Linked DNA regions of Homo sapiens: region 2 is linked to region 1. The links are contacts of gene promoters, found by promoter capture Hi-C in blood cells and fetal thymus (Javierre and others, 2016). All regions are on one chromosome and are shown on one strand. Each heading gives the region's core, a stretch centred on a gene start or on the middle of the fragment in contact. The rest is flanking DNA. Distances are from core to core; before and after follow the strand shown.

What was found. Contacts are between HindIII fragments. The CHiCAGO score rates a contact against its expected background, and 5 or more counts as called.
Region 2: a fragment that was not itself captured here is called in contact with the fragment with the promoter of ADCYAP1 in region 1 in 1 of 17 cell types (total CD8 T cells); the score reaches 5.4 in total CD8 T cells.

Annotation. Positions count from the first base shown.
Region 1 is chr18:901,583-908,117 of GRCh38, reverse strand. ADCYAP1 (adenylate cyclase activating polypeptide 1) reads right to left here and starts at 3,247. Exons shown (of 5, transcript NM_001099733.2): 1 at 3,058-3,247; 2 at 2,622-2,732; 3 at 328-459. The coding sequence starts at 2,731. LOC124904340 (a long non-coding RNA gene) reads left to right here and starts at 1,466. Exons shown (of 2, transcript XR_007066435.1): 1 at 1,466-3,036; 2 at 3,770-5,354. RefSeq lists an enhancer at 1-402. The HindIII fragment of the contact is 10,218 bases long and covers 1-5,344 here.
Region 2 is chr18:2,517,422-2,523,494 of GRCh38, reverse strand. No RefSeq gene overlaps it. Among named protein-coding and RNA genes, the nearest start is that of METTL4, 51 kb to the left of the region's middle. The HindIII fragment of the contact is 1,302 bases long and covers 2,008-3,309 here.

The DNA.
Region 1 (6,535 bases), core at 1,998-4,497:
CGGGATGATCTCGAGAGCAACTGCTAGGATCGGGAGCTAGTCCCGGCTCTAGGAGTGGCAGATGCGGAGTGTGGGTTCCTTGACGCCACTCACTGCCACTCTTTGGGCCACAGCCCCCCTCGGTCCCCACGCGGCCCTCAGGTCCACACAGACCCGCCCGCTGCTGATTTTCTGTCGCTGCAATAGGATCGGGCCAGGGAGAGGACAGGCTTGAGGACTTTCACGGGAAAAAAAAAAAAATCCTGGGTGGGTCACCACACTGCCCCTCCCGTCACCGCAGTCCCGAGCTCCCAGCCGCGGGTGTGCGCGAGGCCGCGCGAATCTCACCTTCTCCCGGCCGGGCGGTACCAGGCGGCGGCGGCGCGCGGCGCGGAGGCGGGGCTCCCTGCGCCCGGCGGCTCCGAGCCATCGAAGTCTGGCAGCGGGTTTCCGTCCTCGCCGTACGCCTCTTCCTCTGGCCTGCGGGGTGGCCGGGGACAGAAGGTGTGGTCAGTGCAAGTTCCTCCCCAGCTCGGCGAGGATCCAAAGTAAGGGGCTCGCGCGGATTTTCACAGGTGATAAAAGTCCTCCGCTGAGAATTGTCTCTTCTCCCAGGACTGGGGGTGGGAGCAGAGGTAAGGAGGAGGCAACGACACCCAACCACTCCTACCCCGCCGGGCGGCCCGCCCACCCCCCCTTCGCGGGTAAAGGGTCGTCCTGCGGGCCACGGCCTCAACAAGCGCTGGGAAACCGAGGCGTCTCCGCCGATCGCGCACACCTGTCTACGGAAAAGGACCGCCCCCCTCCCCGCCTGGCTCCCGAGCCTCCCCAAAGCAGCAACGGGCGGGGACGAGAAAGGCCCTGGGAGACCGGGCGCTGACCCACGCGAAGACCCGAATGGGGAGGCCCAGAAAGCAAAGGAGAGGATGCGTGGGGCGTGCGGGGGCCAACTCCTCAGCCACCCCCACCCCAGCCTCCGAGCCCAGGGGAGCCCTTCTCCGAGCAGATGTAGGTCACGGAGAACCTCGGTTTCTATTTTGGGCAGGCGAGGATCTGGCAGGAACATGAATAATAAATGCCCCTAAACTTAGCCAGTTCGGCGGCGGCTCAGACTGTGGCGCGTCCGCACCCTCCGGTGCTTCTCGCACGGAGAAAGTGCCAGGCACACGGGAACTTGAAAATAGCTGAGGGTGAAACCAGGGTGTTTTAAGGCCACTAAACGAATAGTTCGCGCTGATCTGTTATCGATGGCGGTGCCCCATCTCAACCCCAGAGCACGAGGAGGGGGACCGAGATCCAGCGAGTGCCTGGCGACTTCGCAGTCGCCCTCTACAGCCTCCGTTCTTGACACAGGACGGGTAGAGATGGGTTAAAACAAATCCCTCTCGCTTTGGACCCCTGGAGAGACTTGGCGTGCAGCCAGCGCTAGTAGCACTCTCTGGGCGGGGTTGGAGTCGTACTTCGCTGCTTCACTCGCCTTTTCTCCATCCTTGGAGAGGCCCGGGCAAGGCAAGCGCATCATTCCGCACGCCTCGCACCCAGCCTTTGCTCGGCGATGCGCCTCAGCCCTGGCCCGGGTACCCCGAACCCTGGGGTCTTTCTGGATATTGCCCTGCCTCGAGCCCAGATGCTGGAATCCTAATACAGAACCCAGAACCCATCTCTCCGTCCAAATCAATGATCAGCGGCCCCCCAGAGCTAATGTTCCTGGGCGGGGCTCGGAGAAGGCAGCTTCGCAGGCAGAACGCGCGCTCCTCGCTGCCCCAGGCGCCGCTGGTACGAACCCTCCCCTACCCAGGGCTCATCCACAGCCTGGCACATCGGTCCGCGACTCTGGGGCTGCCTCCGGGAACCTGGGCCGCGCCTGCCGGTTAGAAACCCGGGGTTAAGAAAAAAGCCAAGGTTCCTCCATCCCGGGCCAGGCAGGGCTGCTCTCCCGGTCCTGCCTGCCTGCTGGCTTTCCCTTCCTCCTCCTTTGCGCCTGTTTTTCCCCCTCCTTCGCAGTCTCGTCCTTGTTCTTCCCTCTCTTAAGTCGCTTTTCCTCAATCACACCGGGCCAACACCCTCCCCACCGCACGCCCCCCAAGACAGCCTGGGATTCAAAATGCAGTTGGAACACGGATCACTTGAAAGAAAGCTCTTCAGGGGAAAGAATTGGAATGAAATGAAAAGAAAGGGTGGAGGAGAGAGAGAGACCCCACCCGGATAGTCCAGAACAAGCAGTAACAAAGCAAAGTCCGAGGGAGCTTCACGCTCAACCCCCGGCCAGGCTCCAGAGCTGAAGTTCTCCTAACTCGTCCCAAGAATAGGTAAAAGAAACCAAGCTAGGGGCCGTGCCCTGCCCCCATCCTGTGGGCCGGGTTGGGGGAGGGGGGGTTCTCCAGCGGCCAGAAGCTCACTGGCTCTACCCGGGACCCTGAGCTGCCTAGGGCTGGGGGAGGCGTCCGAGCAGTCGCGGAGCCTGCCAGACCCTCGGCTAGAATGGGGACCCGCTGTCCAGCCGAGGCTGGCGGAGGCGCACCGGGGGCGCAGAGGGCGATGCTAGTAGTCTGGACCCAAAGGACTGCAGGAAGGAGACCGTGAGGAAGCGTCTGTGCCTGGGAAGCCCCAGCTCCTGCTTGGGCCAGGCAGCCAGCACCTACCTGATCCCGGGGAACCGGAGTCCGGCGGCGGCAGGTGAGCTGTAGACGCTGCTGTGCATGATTATCCCATAGACCAGCAGGGCCAGCCTCGCTCCGCTACACATGGTCATTCTGCGCAGGATGGGAAAGAGGACACACAGCTGTGAGAACGCCCCTGGCCTCCCACCCTCCAACCCCAAAAAGCTCTGGAAGCCGGGGGAGGGACGGAGCGAAGCCCCGGCTCCCTGAGTTGAACAGCACTTGGCGACAGCCGGTGCGCGCCCTGCCACTTCTTGCTTGCTATAGTTAGAAAAAAATATATATATATGCATCTACCCGGCGCCCAATAACTAGCCAGACCCGGCTGAAGGAAAGCTAACTCCCCTGACGCGATGCCAAGCGAAAGAATCAGCAGTCGAGTGAGCCGGTCGCTTTGGTAAGATTTTCCCTCCCTTACCCTTCAACTCCTCCCGCTGCCAGGAGAGCTGCCAGGTAGGACGGCGGGCAAAGCGCTTCTTCAAGTTCCTGCGCTGGAGTCACCACCCGAGAGGCATCGCCGTCTGGCGTTGGTGTCTGAGCAGAAGCCGCAGGAACCAGCGGGAGCAGCAGGAGGAGCTGCGGGACTCGTTTGCCGAGGCTCGTGTTCTGCTCAAAAGTTTGTAGACGCGCAGAACCAGGAGGGAGCGTGACACGGAGAGAAGGGGGCGCAGAGAGAGAGGCAGAAGAAAGAAAGAGGGGGCGATGAGGTGAAGCGCGGAGGAGCAAGGTGGCCGTAAGTCCACCCGGAGGAAGAAGCAGGCGATTAAGGGAAAGAGGGAAAGTCAGAAAAGAAGGGGAGGAAGGCAAGGGAGAGGGCGGGCGGCTAGCCCGCCTTTGTAGGAGCCGCGGGCCAGGCAGCCGCGAGGGTCGGCGGCGCCTTCTCTGCTCCGAGGTCTCTCCGGCTGCCTCTGAAGCTGCGGCTTCTGCTGCTGCTACCGCTGGTTACAGAGGTGACCGGCCTTCTGCTCCTATTTATCTGTGCAGTTCGCAAAAATCTATCCGAACATGGTTTTTGGAGAGCCCTCTTTGTCAACATCTGCCTGCCTGTTGCCTTTAAGTACAGAATATTTTGTTGCACTGTTGCGCTCCGATTTTTATTCATGAAATGACTTCCTTTTTTTTTTTCTCAGTCACGTAATGATCGGGTATCAGAAAAAGACGTCAGCATCCTAGTCCCTCAAGGAACATATTAACTATTCTGTGCTGTCCTCTTGGATGATAAGATCCGGAGTCATCGACTTCTCATAAACACCTTTCACTCATACAATCCAATTTTTAAGAAGTCCAATTGTTTTGATGGTTTTCAATTTCACCCGTTTCTCAAGGACAGGTAAAGAATTTTTAGAATTTTGAGGATGACAAAAGTTATGTTTTTAACTATATAATTACGATTTCTCTTTACTTTTTCATCAAGCCTCACCAATCAGAGCTCTGGTCTCTGGAATTAAGCATCATCAAGCTCTCCTATTAATAAATTTAATTTAGATCTCCTAATTTCTTGCGTATGTTCTTTCAGATAGACCATTAAATGTGGAAGTCGTTTTGTTTTTAAAGGGAAGTCTTGGAGGATTTTCAGTAAATCTCTCCTGAGTCTGGCTGCCGTTGACAGTAGGGCTATGAGTAGATTGATGAGAGCTCATGCTGCCTCCGGAGCGCGGCCTGCGGAGCTGTCCAGACTCCGGGTGCTGAAGTGTAGGGTAACAGATGCTACAAACGTTGAAAATTGCCACCGGTTTAATTTTTCACCAGAGCCTCTAAATTTGAAGATTTGGCAGTAGTGCTATTAACGTGGCGATTCATCGCCTAAATCACCCCCACCGTTCAGATACATCCTTTCCCTCTTGTAGCGTCCATAAATGCCCTAATGCTGAGAATGCTCCCCATCCCTGCCTGGATTTGAGGAAAAAGCATTCTGTCCCCCGTTAGTCCTGGCTTTTGGATTTCTAGACCGGCTGTTTGGCTACTTTCACACCTTCTGTGGCTCTTACAGATTTTAAAAATTGATGTTGTGAAATTGTGTTTTCCACAAGAAGTGAAATTTTAAGAATTTGGGGGCGAGAAATATGTTTTTCCACTTTGTTTACAACTTCAGCTCTGTTTGGGAGACACAGACAGACTGGGAAAGCATGAGGGTTCCCAGTACAAGTTCACCTGATGAAGGTTTCTAACAGGAATCCCTCTGCTGGAAACAGTTAATTTTTTTAACTGAAAATGATGTGGGAAGAGGAAAGCAATAAGGGAAGACCATATCCACCCAGAGGCTTCCAATTTCCTGGGTAATTGAAGAAGGTTCATATATTTCTACTCCAGTAAGAGAACTCAGGTCTATTTCTTTAAAAAAAAAAAAAAGAAGAAGAAGAAAGAAAGAAAGAAAATAGAGCCATCAATAACCATTAGAGTGCATTTTAATTATTTGGATCTTACACAAAAATTAGGGGAAATTCCAGTTTAGTGGGAGGGTTTCCTGTTACTACGATTTGGATCTCACATTTAAATAAGCTATATTAGTTCTGCATGCTTTTTCCAAGATATTATATTTCTCCTTCTAAATGCTGTTCCTGCTCTTATTTGAGATTTAATACTTCCTCCTTCTTAAAAAAAAAAACTAAGTTTTGTTTATTCCTGGCCATGAATGACCGAAAACTGTCTGCTTCCTCTTAGTTTATTCCTGGCCGTGCTTCAGATTGTCTGCCTTCAATAAAGCTTCAAACCACATCTACATGGGAATATGTCTCTTTTTCTCTGATACATATGCTCACTGATTTATGTTGGACTGTTTACATGCGTGTTTTCCATGTTCAGCTCTGCCTCTGCAGCAAGCTCGCACACAAAGAGCCTGCGGTGAACACTACCAGATAATCAAGCAGAGATGTCTTTCTTACTAAAGCGCCCAAAGCTATTCCCCACTGTGGCTTTCCTGTCTTCCGCCTTGCTTCACGTCAAAGGTGAACCCCATTAAAATCCTTACTCTTTCCTCCCACACGAATTCTGAGTTGAGTTCAATCTGGAGAAATATTTGAAAATTTCCAAGACTCCTTGTACAATTCACTACTCAACTTTAGTAAAGGGAGCCACCATGTGGGGAGTTTGCTGACTTCACGGCCCATTAAAGGGGGAAAACCACAAACACGATTAACTATCTGGGGAGGACGACTAACTGCTGGCTCCAAGGGCCAACAGAGGCTGAACTGTGCCTCTGACTTACCAAGGCTGCGACCCCGTGCTCTTCTCAGCTTAGATACTCTCAGCTCAGAACTCGGGGCTCAGCACCCAAAAATTACAGGCCTTCAGACCTGAACCCATTCACGAGAGTGAAAGACTAAACAGAGAACTTGAGATTCTTGGTCACTGAACTCCAGAAAATCAAGCTTCCTAGACCCACCAATTGCTCAACACAATCTAAAGACCCACACAGCCCTGCCCACAGCAGCCTGGGGGAATCAAACTCCTACAGGATCACCCACAGATCTTTTGTTGCTCATGGCCATTGTCTAGCTGGGCATGTTTGACATCTCTCTGCAGGAGAGCTTTCCTATTCATGAAAATCTGGCCTTGGCCCTGGGCCAAGGGAAAAGGCCAATAGATAGGAGGAACTAGAAGCTGCTAGATGAGAGTATAGGCCCCTTCTGCTTTCTATTGGGTAGAGGGAATATGGGATGACTGAAGTCTCAAAGACCAAAACTACCCCCAAATGCCCCTTTGATTCTAATCTTGGAAGGCTCCAGTCAAGCATTAACAGAGCATCCTGGAGGCCTTTGTGTCTGGGACTTTGAGGGAGCTGCAAGGAAGAGGGAACTTGTCAGCCCAAAGCCCCAGGCTAGAGAGACCAGGAGCCCCGGCATGCACTGAGGAGGCATGCGGCAGTGGCCAGGTGGGATACCGTGGCCCAGTCCAAC
Region 2 (6,073 bases), core at 1,409-3,908, 1.6 Mb before region 1:
ATTCCTGAGCTCAGGTGATCTGCCCACCTTGGCCTCCCAAAGTGCTGGGATTACAGGTGTGAGCCACTGTGCCAAGCCTGAAAATCTCTTTTAATTGGAATATTTAGATTATTTATATTGAATGTAGTTATATGATTGGGTTTACATCTGCCATTTTTTTTTCTATTTGAGCTATCTGTTCTTCCTTCTTCCCTTTTTACCCAACTTCTTTTGGATTTATTGTTTTTTTATGATTCCATTTTATCTTCAGTATTGACTTCAAAAGTTATCTCTACTGTTTTTCTTTTTAAATGGTTTATCTAGGGTTTACAACTCCTAACTCTAGCTTGTCATAGACTACCTTCAAATAACATTAGACTATATATAAGAGCTCTACAACAGTATGCTTCCATTGCCCTCTTCCATCCTTTTTGCTATTCTTTTAGATTTTATTTCTACATATATTATAAGCTCTGTGACATACTATCATTTTTATTTTAAACACTTAATTATCTTTATTTTTGAAAAGTAGTTTTACTGGCTATAGAATTCTTGATTTTTTTCCCCCAGCACTTTAAAGATGTTGAACACTTTCTATGAGTCCTCCACGATACTGGGTTAGTCAGGAACAAAACAGACAGAAATGGTGCATACTTTTTAATAAGGAGAGCAAGTCAGTATATAATATTAATAATCAATACATATATTATGGAAAGTAGTAAGTTTCTTAGAGAAAAATAAGCAGTGAAAGGATGTGCAGAGAGCTGGGGTGGGGTCACTTTTAAGTAGTGTGGTTAGCAAGGTCTCCTGAGCAAGACTGGAAGGAGGTGAGACAGCAAGACACTAGATATCTAGAAAGAGAGCGTGCCAGGCATTGGGAACAACAGATGCAAAGGTTCTGGGTGGGGAGTAAATCTGGTAGGTTTGAGACAGAGCAAGGAAGCCAGAGAGCTAAAGCTGAGTAAGGGAGGGTTGGGTAATGGTGTCCAAATCACAAGGGTTTTATGGGACATTAAAAAGATTTTGGGAGATGGAAAGCCAGAAGAGGCTACAATTAAGTTATTGACTCGATTGTGTCAGCTGAGGAGTAATGGGGCAAACACAGTTGCATGACTTATTTGGGGAGATTAATTAGGTAGTGTTTGCTGGGTTACACTGCGTAACAGTAAACCACTTCAAAATCTCAGTGGTTTACATTAACATGATTTATTTCTCACTCTGTATGTTTGTAGTTGCGGGTTGGCTGGCATGGTTCTGCTTCAGATCACAGGTCAGATTCAGACACTATGCACATCTTCTCATTCAGTGTCTCAGGCCAGAGGAACAGCCTTGAATAGGACATGACTTTCTCATGGTGGAAGGCACGGGAGGAAAAGCCCAGCTGAACTCATACTTGCCCCTCCCTCCCTCCTAGAGAAAAGAAGGTTGATCTAGAATGAAGTCCTCAGGTCCATATATCTAGACCATGGGGTGGAGCTTGGCATAAAGGGGAAAGTTTCAGAGGGAAGTATGAAGAGGCTGAAAGTGCTTTTCTTCACATGTTACTTTTTGGGGGTGGCCATTTACTTTTGGATCTCTTCCTTTCTCCTTTCTTTTCCTTCCCTTTCTTTCTATTCCCCTCTTGTCTCTTCTCTCCAATGGCTGGAAAGAAGGGCCCAGGGCTACCTCTTCTTTCACTTGGGAGGGTGCCTTGGAAAGCCCAGCAGGCAATATGGCAGGGCCCAGAGGACACATGGACAGTCCAGCCCAAGCCTAACTCTAGACAAAGTGGTCTCTGCATTTACACTTGATCTGTCCAAGCTTATAATAGACGAGGTTCTGAAACCCACTCTTGGATCTATGATGGAGTTGGGCAGTCCGTGGAGGAATAAGGGCCTTGAGATTCTGTCAACCTTTCCATTTGTTAAGACTCGGAAATATACTATATTTGGCATTATATCACTAGGATTTTAAACATATTGATAGGACAGATGGTTTATTGTCTCTGAGGACACAATGTTCTATTGTAAGCTTGATACTCTAAAAGCTTTTAATTTCAGAAAATATATTTTTGCTCTCTTGAAATTTCTGAAAGTTATTAAGTAAAAGAACATAAAGAGAAAAAAACTCTCAAGTTAAAAAAAGTCAAGTATTTTGATTATGCTTGTACACAACATGTCTCAAGGTTGTTCTATTCTGTTACACACAATGGGACAGCTGAGCTCATGCAGTTTTCAGCCTCCTCCCTGACTCTTCCCTTTTGGATCTTTAGCTCCCAGCACCATGCTTCATGCATGGTAGGAACTTGAGAAAGATGTGGTTAATACTGGATTGGAAATGTTTGTATTAAAGTTGAAGGTTAATGTAGGGAAGGGAGGTTTTTGGTGGAGTGAGTGGAAATTTTAGTTCCCAGATATAATGCATTAGTGTGTCTGTAAAGTGCAGTTTACAAAGGACTGCTACATGCAGTGTCTTATTTGTCCTCACAACTCTGTGGGGCAGACATTATTTACATTATTATACATCCCTCTTTTACAAATGAGGCCCGGAGAGGTTAAGTGACTTGTCTACTGTTTTACCCACAGTGATAGTCAGGTCTCAAACCCTCTTCTCCTTTTTCCCAAATGGAAGTAAGAGTTTTCTAGAAGGTGGGGATTAATAGAGGTTTCAGACCTGTAGAAATATTTAAGAAGATGTAATATTGCAATAATATTTATAGCTTTCCTAAGAAACAGCCATGTCAGTGGAATAGAAAGATTGGAAGACAGTTGGCCGGGCGCGGTGGCTCACGCCTGTAATCCCAGCACTTTTGGAGGCCAAGGCGGGTGGATCATGAGGTCAGGAGATCGAGACCATCTTGGCCAACATGGTGAAACCCCGTCTCTACTAAAAATACAAAAATTAGCCAGATGTGGTGGCGCATGCCTGTAGTCCCAGCTACTCGGGAGGCTGAGGCAGGAGAATCGCTTGAACCCAGGAGGAAGAGGTTGGAGTGAGCCAAGATCGTGCCACTGCACTCCAGCCTGGCGACAGAGTGCGACTCCATCTCAAAAAATATGATTTTAATAACCCCACAAACTATTCTATAATATTAGCTCAGTTGTAAATGTATGGTTTTCAAATAATTTAGAGTTGCTAAAGCGGTACAACTCATAATACTAAGAGAACATTGTCAATTCTTTTGCACATAGAAATAATTATTTTCTGGAGTGTTTAAGGACTACAAATCTGTGCCCTGATTCTCTAAAGTATTCATAAGCATTTTATAAAAGACATATATTGGTAAGAATTGCTATTATGCAAAATATATTTCAATTAGGATTTTACTGAATTTCTTATATCATTCAAGCTTTTCATGTCATTTTTTTTTTCAGTGTTCCATAGTTTAATGATGGAATACCTGTGGAAATAAATGTTTTAGAAAACTTTCTCCTATAAATATCAAGACAATCTTTTTTTTTTTTTTGAGACAGGGTCTTGCTCTGTTGCTCAAGTGGGAGTGCATTGGGGGTGATTATGGCTCACTGCAGCCTCAACCTCCCAGGCTTAAGCAACCCTCCCACCTCTCAGTCTCCTAAGTAGCTGGGGCTACAGGTGCATGCCACCACACACCACACATGGCTAATTTTTGTATTTTTGTAGAGACTGGGTCTCACCATGTTACCCAGGCTGATCTCAAACTCTATCAAGACAATTTTGTTAAAAATTATACAACTGCTATTGTTCTGATAGTCATATACCATCCCATGCCTGCCCAAATATAGTGAAGAGTGCATTCACATGATAGAAAACGTAGTGCCCACAGGGCTACAATGCATATCTGAAGCTTGTCTCCACCTCACTGAGACCCAGGGGATTTTGCGTATCGATAGACTTTGTTTTTACAATATTCTCAGTATTCTACTTGTAATTTCAATTGTTAGAGTTCACTTTAATTTTTTTTTTTTTTGAGACGGAGTCTTGCTTTGTCACCCAGGCTGGAGTGCAGTGGCGCGATCTCGACTCACTGCAACCTCCGCCTCCTGGGTTCAAGCGATTCTCCTGACTCAGCCTCCTGAGTAGCTGGGACTAGAGGTGCGTGCCACCACGCCCGGCTAATTTTTGTATTTTTAATAGAGATGGGGTTTCACCATATTGGTCAGGCTGGTCTTGAATTCCTGACCTCGTGATCCGCCTGCCTCAGCCTCCCAAAGTGCTGGGATTACAGGTGTGAGCCACCGCGCCTGGCCCACTTTAAATTTTTAATCTATGACATAATTGTTTTGCACATACCCAAGAAAAAGGACCAAAATATGACATAAGAATATTTTAGAAGTTTTCTCTTGAGCTTTTCAGTACATCTTGATAGAGGGGAAGATATGATGATAAAGTATTTGGCACTTGGGTCAACAATCTAGTTTATTCAGTAGTTCAGCAAATATTTTAAATATATCTACTTAGCACGTAGTCCAAGGGGATGTAGTCTGGAGCAAGACAGACATGGTCTTTGGCCTCCTGGGTTTACAATTTATAATTGCTGGATTACAGAGTATAGAATAGTAACAAAATGATAGAAAACTTAAATGTAAAAGATAAAAGGGCAACGGGAGTCGTGTGAGTTTGAGTGTGAGGACAGATAGCATGGCCATGCTATCTGCTCTGCCTCCTTAAAAGGTCACTGGAAGTTGGTTACTTCCATTCTGATAGAGGCCTCACCCTTCCCTGGCAACCCAGTCCACTAACAGCTGTATTTTGCTGAAGCATAAAACTTTAAGCCAGTGTTCTCTTCAGAGCCCAGACAGTCCTCTGCAGTTTGGAGAGTTCTTCCTGGACTGCACTAACAAAGGCCAACCTGTTTCGGGAAACTCTCGACACTTTCCTCTGTGTCAGCACAGTCACCTGGAATGCGTTCCAGCCGGAGCTGTGACTATTTAATCTCACTTTGTCTCTTAGCCCTGTCATCTTCCACACCCCTGAACTGTCAGTCTCTGTAGGCCTCTGTCCTTTCTGGCGAGGCTATTTCAGCAAGGCTTTAGGCCTACAACCCCTTCTCAAGCCATCCCCTTCATTGTCTTTTTTGCCAGGCCTTCTGCTGTGTGCTTTGGACTTCCTACATGCAGGCATTCTCCAGATTAACAGGGATGCTCATCCTGGCTAAGGATTCCACAGGTTCAAAACCAAGCTCATGAGAGTTCGATGTATTAATTCTCATAATTAGTCATATGTAAGTTTACTGCTGCTGGGAGTGAAGCTGAGTCCAAGATGCGAGGTGCCAGATGCAGAGGCAAAATGATTATATATAGATGGGGGAGAAGACCTTGAGAAAATCTGCTCCGTGGGACCGGACACTCAGGAAACAATTTTTCCTTCTCATGGAAAGCAGATCAGATGCCTAGAGATGATTGTGACCTGCAGTGCTTATGTGATGCAGATGTGGTCCTTTGTGCCGCTTCCCACAGATGGGAACATGAGAAAATGTGGAAGTTCTACTCATGTCCTGCTAAAAGCTCTTACATTTCATAATCATGATTATTTGCTTTATATATGTTTCCTTCAGTAGCCCACGTAAGGTAGGACAAAATTACAATTAGGTACACAGTTGGAATCATAACTTCTTGGCTGAGTGAAACAGCTAAAGGGATGGGGACACTCTCCTCTCCCTACTCCTACTTCCACCTCTGTCCTGCCTGCATAAGACCGTCTGGTCACACATACAGATGCTTAATTGTCAAGGTCAAGCACTGTCCCTCTATCACTCACCCAAGAAACTCACTGCTGAGGGAGTGTCGCTGCCTCTCAAATCCAGGGACATGTAGATGGTGGTAGAATCTCACCTTTCAGGTGGAAGTGTAGGAAATGTGCAGGCAAAACTACTAGGCCCTGCATTTGGTAGGAAATAAAAAGAGTCAAGTCTTTGGACAAATTTGATCACTTATATATAATTTCTGTTTCACTGGCAGCAAAACAACTGACACAAAATTGTGGCCAGAGAAAGAAGATATTCCAGGACCGGGCACGATGGCTCATGCCTGTAATCCCAACACTTTGGGAGGCCGAGGTGGGCGCATCACCTGAGGTCAGGAGTTGGAGACCAGCCTGCCAACATGGTGAAACCCCGCCTCTACTAAAATACAAA